Linked DNA regions of Homo sapiens: all the other regions are linked to region 2. Evidence: promoter capture Hi-C in 16 types of primary human blood cells and fetal thymus (Javierre and others, 2016). All regions are on one chromosome and are shown on one strand. The core of a region is centred on a gene start or on the middle of the fragment in contact, and the rest is flanking DNA. Distances in the headings are between cores, read along the strand shown.

What was found. The method cuts DNA at HindIII sites, captures the fragments that hold promoters and counts their contacts. A CHiCAGO score of 5 or more calls a contact.
Region 1: a contact is called between a fragment that was not itself captured here and the fragment with the promoter of PILRB in region 2, in 2 of 17 cell types (total B cells and total CD8 T cells). The highest score is 7.3, in total B cells.
Region 3: a fragment that was not itself captured here is called in contact with the fragment with the promoter of PILRB in region 2 in 1 of 17 cell types (total B cells); the score reaches 5.1 in total B cells.

The regions. Positions count from the first base shown.
Region 1 is chr7:100,114,588-100,117,540 of GRCh38, forward strand. All of the region lies in intron 1 of TAF6 (TATA-box binding protein associated factor 6), which reads right to left. Among named protein-coding and RNA genes, the nearest start is that of TAF6, 3.3 kb to the right of the region's middle. The HindIII fragment of the contact is 3,542 bases long and covers 1-2,953 here.
Region 2 is chr7:100,356,803-100,359,735 of GRCh38, forward strand. It overlaps PILRB (paired immunoglobin like type 2 receptor beta), which reads left to right and starts at 1,315. Exons shown (of 4, transcript NM_178238.4): 1 at 1,315-1,564; 2 at 1,888-2,277; 3 at 2,535-2,735. The coding sequence starts at 1,501. STAG3L5P-PVRIG2P-PILRB (STAG3L5P-PVRIG2P-PILRB readthrough) reads left to right here. Exons shown (of 17, transcript NR_036570.1): 13 at 1-81; 14 at 1,418-1,564; 15 at 2,097-2,277; 16 at 2,535-2,735. The HindIII fragment of the contact is 11,655 bases long and covers 1-2,764 here.
Region 3 is chr7:100,187,553-100,190,465 of GRCh38, forward strand. STAG3 (STAG3 cohesin complex component) reads left to right here. Exons shown (of 34, transcript NM_001282717.2): 6 at 901-977; 7 at 1,260-1,464; 8 at 1,893-2,044. It also overlaps the pseudogene LOC102724025. Among named protein-coding and RNA genes, the nearest start is that of STAG3, 11 kb to the left of the region's middle. RefSeq lists an enhancer at 2,658-2,817. The HindIII fragment of the contact is 2,848 bases long and covers 88-2,913 here.

The sequences.
Region 1 (2,953 bases), core at 118-2,617, 240 kb before region 2:
TGCACACCTGTAATCCCAGCTACTAGGGAGACTAAGGCACGAGAATCACTTGAAACCAGAGGGCAGAGGTTGCAGTGAGCCGAGATCACGCCACTGCACTCCAGCCAGGGTGACTCCGTCTCAGGAAAAAAAAAAAAAAAATCTGGACTGGGCCTAGTGGCTCATGCCTGTAATTCCAACACTCTGGGAGCCCAAGGTAGGAGGATCGCTTGAGCCCAGCAGTTCACGACCAGCCTGGACAACACAGTGAGACCCCATCTGTACAAAAAATACAAAAATTAGCTGGGTATGCAGGCACAGGGCTGTTGTTCTAGCTACTCAGGAGGCAGAGGTGGGAAAACTGATAGAGCCCAGGAGCTCCTAGGCTCAAGCAATCCTCACACCTCAGCCTCCCAAGTAGCTGGGACTATAGGTGTGTACCACTACACACAGCCAATTTTTTGCAGGGGCAGGGGCAGAGACAGAGTCTCACTATGTTGTCCAGGCTGGTCTTGAACTGCTGGGCTCACGCAGTCCTCCTGCTTCGGCCTCCCAAAGTGTTGGAATTACAGGCCTGAGCCACCAGGCCCAGCCCAGATTTTTATCTTTTTCTGTTACACCTCAGGGCTTCAATCCCACCACTTTGAAGTTTTGGGCTCAAGCAATCCTCCAGCGTTGGCCTCTCAAAGTGTTGGAATTAAAGGCGTGAGCCGAAGTGTCTGGCCCAGGCTCAGCTTTCCTTATCTTCATAGCAATGCCATCCATCCAGACACTTGTTCTTTATCTGAGCCTTCACATCAAATCCACCAGGTAGGCCAGGTGCGGTGGCTCACGTCTGTAATTCCAGCAATTTGGGAGGCCAAGGTGGGTGGATCACTTCAGGTCAGGAGTTCGAGACCAGCCTGAGCAACATGGTAAAACCCTTTCTCTACTAAAAATACAAAAATTAGCTGGGCATGGTGGCGCGTGCCTGTAATCCCAGCTACTTGGGAGGCTGAGGCAGGAGAATCACTTGAGCCTCGGCAGTAGAGTTTGCAGTGAGTTGAGATTGCGCCATTGCACTCCAGCCTCAGTGACAGATGGACTCTGTCTCAAAAAAAAAAAAAAGGTAAAAAAATAAATCCGGTCGGGCGCGTTGGCTCACACCTGTAATCCCAGCACTTTGGGAGGCCGAGGCGGACGGATCACCAGGTCAAGAGATGGAGACCATCCTGGCCAACATGGTGAAATCCCATCTCTACTAAAAATACAAAAACTAGCTTGGCGTGGTGGCACGCACCTGTAGTCCCAGCTACTCGGGAGGCTGAGGCAAGAGAATCACTTGAACCTGGGAAGTGGAGGTTGCAGTGAGCCAAGATCGTGCCACTGGACTCCAGCCTGGCGACAGAGCGAGACTCTGTCTCAAAAATCAATCAATCCACCAGGTAGTCCAACCTGACTCCTCTGCTCCCACTGCTTGGCCCAGGTCACCATCATCTATCCACTGGGTAACTCCAAAAACCTCCTAACAATGTCAACCGGAGTCTACCCTTGCCTTTCTCTACATCTATTCCTAACGTTGCAGCCAAAATGCTTCTGTCAAACTGTAAAGCAGATTGTCATTTCTTTGCTCAAACCCTCATAATGGCTCTCCACTTGCCATAAAGTAAAACCTGAAATCCTTATAATGGGCAGGTGCAGTGGCTCAGCTCATGCCTGTAATCTGTGCACTTTGGGAGGGTGAGGTGGGAAGACTGCTTGGGCTTAGGAATTCCTGACCACCCTGGGCAACATAGCAAAACCCCATCTCAGGCCAGGCACAGTGGCTCACGCCTGTAATCCTAGCACTTTGGGAGACGAAGGTGGGCGGATCACTTGAGGGCAGGAGTTCAAGACCAGCCTGGCCAACATGGTGAAACCCTATCTCTACTAAAAATAAAAAAATTAGATGGGCATGGTGGCGGGCACCTGTAATCACAGCTACTCGGGAGGCTGAGGCAGAAGAATCACTCGAACCCGGGAGGCGGAGGTTGCAGTGAGCAAAGATCTGTGTCATTGCACTCCAGCCTGGGCAACAAAGCAAGACTTCTTCTCAAAAACAACAACAACAACAACAAAAAAAACAGACGAAATCCTTATAATGTCCTACAAAGCCCTTCAAAATTACCTTCTCCCCATTATATCTCTGAACGCCCTTCCTTCTTCCACTTTGATCCAGACACATACATTCCTTCTGGCTGCTCCTTAAACTTGCCAGGTATGTACTTGCTTAATAGCCTTTGCTGCATTCCCTCTGCCTGGAATGTTCTTCCCAAATATCTAATTGGCTGCCTACCCTGACCACCCTATTTAACTCTGCACTCTGCCCTCAGAGTGGGGGCAGCCCACTTTTTCTTTTCCATAGCATTTAACATCTTTTGGGCATGGCGCAGTGGCTCACGCCTGTAATCCCAACACTTTGGGAGGCCGAGGTGGGCAGATCACGAGGTCAAGAGATCGAGACCATCCTGGCCAACATGGTTAAACCCCATCTCTACTAAAAATACAAAAATTAGCTGGGCGTGGTGATGTGCACCTGTAGTCCCAGATACTCGGGAGGCTGAGGCAGGAGAATTGCTTGAACCCAGGAGGTGGAGGTTGCAGTGAGTAGAGGTTGTGCCACTGCACTCCAGCCTGGCAACAGAGTGAGACCCCGTCTCCGTCCACCATCTAGACAGGGCTCTTTTTTTTTTTTTTTTTTTTTGAGCTAGAGTTTCACTCTTGTTGTCCAGGCTGGAGAGCAATGGCGCGATCTTGGCTCACTGCAACCTCCGCCTCCCAGATTCAAGCAATTCTCCTGTCTCAGCCTCCTGCGTAGCTGGGATTACAGGCATGCGCCACCACACCTGGCTAATTTTTGTATTTTTAGTAGAGATGGGGTTTCACCATGTTGCTCAGGCTGGTCTTGAACTCCTGACCTCAGGTGTTCCACCCACCCTGGCCTCCCAAAGTGCTG
Region 2 (2,933 bases), core at 65-2,564:
CTGCCAAGTCCAGCTGGACATACAGATCAGGGAGGCTGTCGTGGCAGTCCATCAAGGGGACCCACCTCACCATCACCCAGGGTGAGTCCAGCTGCCCTGGCACCAAGGAACCTTCCTGGTTCAGCCATAGGCTCAGGTGTGTGGAGGGAATGACCTGAGGGGCTGTATGAGGGAACAACCTCCTGGGGCTCCCCTATGCCTGAGTTCCTGCAACTCAGAAGTTGAGGCCCAGAGATCCAGGTAGAGGGGGCTCCAGTCCTGGGACTGCCCTGCAAGTCATGTGGCCTGGGACAGGGCTTCTCCAAGCTCTGTCCCCTCCTGTGTAGGGCAGGGAGGTCAGAGGGGACCCTGCAGATCCAGTCTCATGTCTGGGGGTCAAGGGGTGGCCTCGAGAGGGACCAGTCTCTGTGTAGGGGACCGTCAGCCCCCTCACCCCTTGAGCAAGACTGTGGTCCCTGCACCAAGGGAGCAGGCCTGGGGTGGGAAGAGGCCAGCTGGGCTGTGGTGGTGCCTGGGGACTGCATGGGAGCCCCTGCCAGGGAGGGAGAGGGACAGAGGACAAGCTGGGGGCTCTGGTGCTTGGGCTGGGGGCTGAGCGCCTGTGACCTCCACTGGCTTCCTCCTTCTCCTCTCTGAGGACTGAATCTGGGGTGCAGCAGAGCACAGACTCAGGCCCGCCTTTCCTCTCCCTGAAAGAGCCTGCGCTGGCCTTGGACAGAGAAAGGGATGAGAAGTGAGGCTGAGTGCGGTGGGGTCTGCAGGGATCCAGGTGGGAGGGGCCCAGCCAGCCAAGGTGAGGCCCAGCCCCTCAGCAGGAAGATGGGCACTGGGGCCCTTGGGCAGGGCTGACTTGACACTTTTGTGTGACTTGAGCCACTGTGCCCAGCCTGAACACCCTTTCCTGGTAAAACACTCCACAAACCAGGAAGAGAAGGAATGTACTGCAACAAAATAAAGGCCAGTCATGCAAGGCCCATGGCTGAAAGTCTTTCAGTCATTTTAGATGAAAGACTGAAATCTTTGCCTCCAAGATCAGGAACAAGAGAAGGATGCCCGCTCTCACTACTTCTATTCAACACAGGATTTGAAGTCAGGCCGGGCACAGTGGCTCACGCCTGTAATCCCAGCACTTTTGGAGGCTGAGGCGGGCAGATTACTTGAGCCTATGAGTGTGAGACCACCCTGGCCAACATGGCAAAACCCCATCTCTACTAAAAAAAAAAAAAAAAAAAGGATTTGAAGTCCTGGCCGGAGCAATTAGGCAAGGGATAAAAAGGCACCTAAGGCCCTTTTGCAATAAGAAGCCAGATGGATAAAGGAAGTGCTGGTCACCCTGGAGGTGTACTGGTTTGGGGAAGGTCCCCGGCCCCCACAGCCCTCTGGGGAGCCTCACCCTGGCTCTCCCCACTCACCTCAGCCCTCAGGCAGCCCCTCCACAGGGCCCCTCTCCTGCCTGGACAGCTCTGCTGGTCTCCCCGTCCCCTGGAGAAGAACAAGGCCATGGGTCGGCCCCTGCTGCTGCCCCTGCTGCTCCTGCTGCAGCCGCCAGCATTTCTGCAGCCTGGTGAGTACCCAGGACCGCCCAGGTATGGTCTCTGCCCAAACCACAGGAGGGGCCAACCCAAGACAAAGGCAGAACATCTGGGGCAGGGGCCAGGCTCCCACCTCCAGCAAACAAGGGCGGGTCCCATAGGGGTGGGTGCCGCCATCTCTTCCCCCTCCACCCTCCCCCATGCCTGAAGAGTGGGAGACCCAGGCCAGAGGTCAGTCCAGCCACCTGTCACACGACTGCCTGTGGGTGAAGGTGTGGGAGGGTCTGGGGTCACCCTCTTTGTGTCCTGAGGTGGTTTCAAGGTCTCTCCCCCACTCACTCCCTCCTTCCTCTAGGTGGCTCCACAGGATCTGGTCCAAGCTACCTTTATGGGGTCACTCAACCAAAACACCTCTCAGCCTCCATGGGTGGCTCTGTGGAAATCCCCTTCTCCTTCTATTACCCCTGGGAGTTAGCCATAGTTCCCAACGTGAGAATATCCTGGAGACGGGGCCACTTCCACGGGCAGTCCTTCTACAGCACAAGGCCGCCTTCCATTCACAAGGATTATGTGAACCGGCTCTTTCTGAACTGGACAGAGGGTCAGGAGAGCGGCTTCCTCAGGATCTCAAACCTGCGGAAGGAGGACCAGTCTGTGTATTTCTGCCGAGTCGAGCTGGACACCCGGAGATCAGGGAGGCAGCAGTTGCAGTCCATCAAGGGGACCAAACTCACCATCACCCAGGGTGAGTCCAGCTGCCCTGACACCTGCCTTGCCCACCGCAGTGAGGGTTTTGGTGACCACTGATGTCTTCACATTTAAACCCAGTGGTCTGGATTGAGAGCTGTTAGCATTTCACCTTGCTACCCCTTCCATGTCTGGGCTTCTGAGAGCAGCTTGCTCATCCTGAATGTCCCCAATCTAGAAAGCAGCACACCATGCCTTTCATCCAGACGCCCCACACCCCCAGAAGAGGGTCTGCTCATTCCTCATCTCTTCCAGCTGTCACAACCACCACCACCTGGAGGCCCAGCAGCACAACCACCATAGCCGGCCTCAGGGTCACAGAAAGCAAAGGGCACTCAGAATCATGGCACCTAAGTCTGGACACTGCCATCAGGGTTGCATTGGCTGTCGCTGTGCTCAAAACTGTCATTTTGGGACTGCTGTGCCTCCTCCTCCTGTGGTGGAGGAGAAGGAAAGGTAAGTGCCCAGAACGCACTGTCTCCTCAAGCTTCCCAGCTGGGGGTTTCTCTGAGCCCACCTGCAGCTAAGGGACTTCAGAAATATGCAGACCCTGCTGGCTCCCCTCAAGCCCACCAAGGCCGACTCTGGCCTGTGCTGGGGCGTCTGCATCTCGGGGGCCTCCTGCAGTGGGGTGGTGCAGGGTCACATGTGAGA
Region 3 (2,913 bases), core at 262-2,761, 170 kb before region 2:
GGTGCAGCCTGGCCCTTCATTTGATCCTTGGCCTTTGGCTGGCACAGCCTGAGCCCCTTGGCATTGTGGGCACAAGCATGCTTCTCAAGCTTGGGGTGGGCAGTGTAGGCAAGTCGGCTTAACCTCCTTGGGCTTTATGAGGGACTTGATAGCCTCAGCATGTGCACTCATGGCCCTATGGCCCTGGCATTGTTGCCCTGCATCATCTTTTTTTTTTTTTTTTTTGAGACAGTCTCACTTGTTGCCCAGGCTGGAGTGCAGTAGTGCGATCTCAGCTTACTGCAACCTCCGCCTCCCAGGTTCAAGCGATTCTCCTGCCTCAGCCTCCCGAGTAGCTGGGATTACAGGCACCCGCCACTATGCCCAGCTCATTTTTTGCATTTTTAGTAGAGACGGGGTTTCACCATGTTGGCCAGGCTGGTCTCGAATTCCTGACCTTGTGATTCACCCACCTTGGCCTCCCAAAGTGCTGGGATTACAGGCATGACCGACTGCACCCGGCTGGCCTGCATCTTCTTTAGGCCGTTCTTGTTGTGCTTCTTGGCAAAGCACATATTCCTCAGGAATTTGGGTCCATCCGCTTAAGAGATTTGTATCTTTGTGATTGGGGTTTCTTGATGCCATTTCTGTGCAGTTTTCAGCCTGGTTGTGTGAGGTGTGGTTCTTGGATTTGGCCATGTCTACACCATAACCTGTGGCTCCCTTCCTTTGGGTTTTTAGAGAGATTGCCTTATAGCAGATACATGGTTGGATGTTGGCAGACTGTTGACCAGGGGGTCTTCTCATTCCCCACCTAAGCTCTTTGCAGAATGTTTCCTTGCTCATCTTCAGGTATATCTGTAAATGATCAAAGCATCCTGTTATTTTCCTTGTAAGCACCTCATATCCTTCATTCTTTAGGCATTGTGACCCCTGAGATGTTCAAGAAGATGTCCAACTCAGAGATCATCCAGCACCTAACAGAGCAGTTTAATGAGGTGGAAGAAGATGACCAGGATCCTCTTACCCCTCTTATTTCAAAACACAATGCCTATTATCCCCTTCTTTTTGATTCTGTGAAATAGGGTAGCTTTTAGAAGGAGGAATTCAGTCTCTTGGGGGTAAAAGAGATCTGAATATGCCTCTCAAATTGGGGAGAATACCAGGAAATGAGGTATAACAGATATTTTTACTGGACTGTTGAGTTTTGACATCCAAGCCCCTATGACTTCATGGACCTGGTAATAACTTTCCCATCCTTTTCATACATCCTTTTGTAGGACTCGGGGGACTACCCTCTCATAGCTCCAGGTCCATCCTGGAAGAAGTTCCAGGGCAGCTTCTGTGAATTTGTGAGGACATTGGTCTGTCAGTGCCAGTACAGCCTCCTCTATGATGGCTTCCCTATGGACGACCTCATCTCCCTGCTCACTGGCCTCTCAGACTCACAAGTCCGCGCCTTCCGTCACACTAGCACCCTGGCTGGTGAGCATTCATTTTTACTCTGGACATTCTCCTGGGGATTTATAGGACTTTCCTCTGTTCTCTGATTCAGGATCTTCTTTCCTACCTGCATCTTGGCTCTTCACTTCAAGGCCATGCCTCTTTTATCCTAAACTTCAATCCAGTTTCTCACTAGTGGAGTTTTGAGAAGGGGTAGATCACAGCAACAATTTCCAGGTTTAATATTTTTGTCAGAGCTCACCACTAGGGGTATGCTGATGGTTAAAAGAAGACCACAAGGGTTCGAGGGAAACAGTCCACTCCAGGACAGGCCGTCTTAGGATTTTAGGGTCATCCTGCTCTGACGTCTCATTTTCATTGCCCTTCTTTCCTTCTATTTTTTCCTTCTACTCATCCTCTCTCCTCTGACCTCAGTAATGATTTCTTTATCTCTTTTTCCTTTCTCAAAGCTATGAAACTGATGACCTCCCTGGTAAAAGTTGCCCTCCAACTGAGTGTGCACCAAGATAACAATCAGCGTCAGTATGAGGCTGAAAGAAACAAGGGGCCAGGGCAGAGGGCACCTGAGCGGCTGGAGAGCCTGTTGGAGAAACGCAAAGAGGTGAGGAGTGTTCCCTGCTTCTTCCTTCCCTTTTTCCCAACTTGCACCCACTTCTGCCACAGACCCCCTTATCAGGCCCTGGGCAGTCTTTCAAGATCATGAATAATGGAGTCTGGCAATAGTTTCATAGACCCATCCTGTAAGGGGTCATTACATGCTCATCTTGTTTCTGGGTTGTGGGCTCAACAAATAATGTGTAATTTAGAGTTCTCTCTAATTCCACTTTTGCTCAGTTTTTTTTTTTTTGTCAGCACTCATTGTTAGGAGTGTTTAAGTGCTGTACCTGCCTGTCATGCAGGGAATTAAGTTTTGACCTACTTGTCAAGTGTGCAGTGTGCAAGTGAGTGCAGGAGTACTAAAAGCCAACCATTGACAAGGGAGGCCAAATTTTCAAGGAATGGAAAGAAAACAGGCCTCCCAGTGAACTCGCTTTAAATTCTGTTGAATTTAGTCACTAGCTCCATAGCCTTATGTAACCTCTCTTCAGTTTTCTTTTCTTTAAAAAAAGGAATAATCTCACCTTTTTGTGAAGAATAAATGAGATGAGTAAATTGCCTCGCTTGGCTCATAGTAGATACTTGTTTTGTTTCCTTTTAAACTTAAAGATGACCACTGGGGGGCATAAGCCATAGCAAAATCTTTTACGCTGATGAAATCTTTAATCAGCTGGGTCTGTCATAAGAGTAACACTACTGGTGTTTTCTCCTCACTCTCTGTTAGTGTCTAAGACCCCTCCTATGAGGTTGGCAGGACTCACCATGTCTGACCATATCATTTGGCTGTTTCTCTAGCCCTCACAAAAGATCTCTTCCATTCTAAATCACTAGAGAAGGAAACTTTCCACTTCCCTTATTCTCTTTTGTTATTTT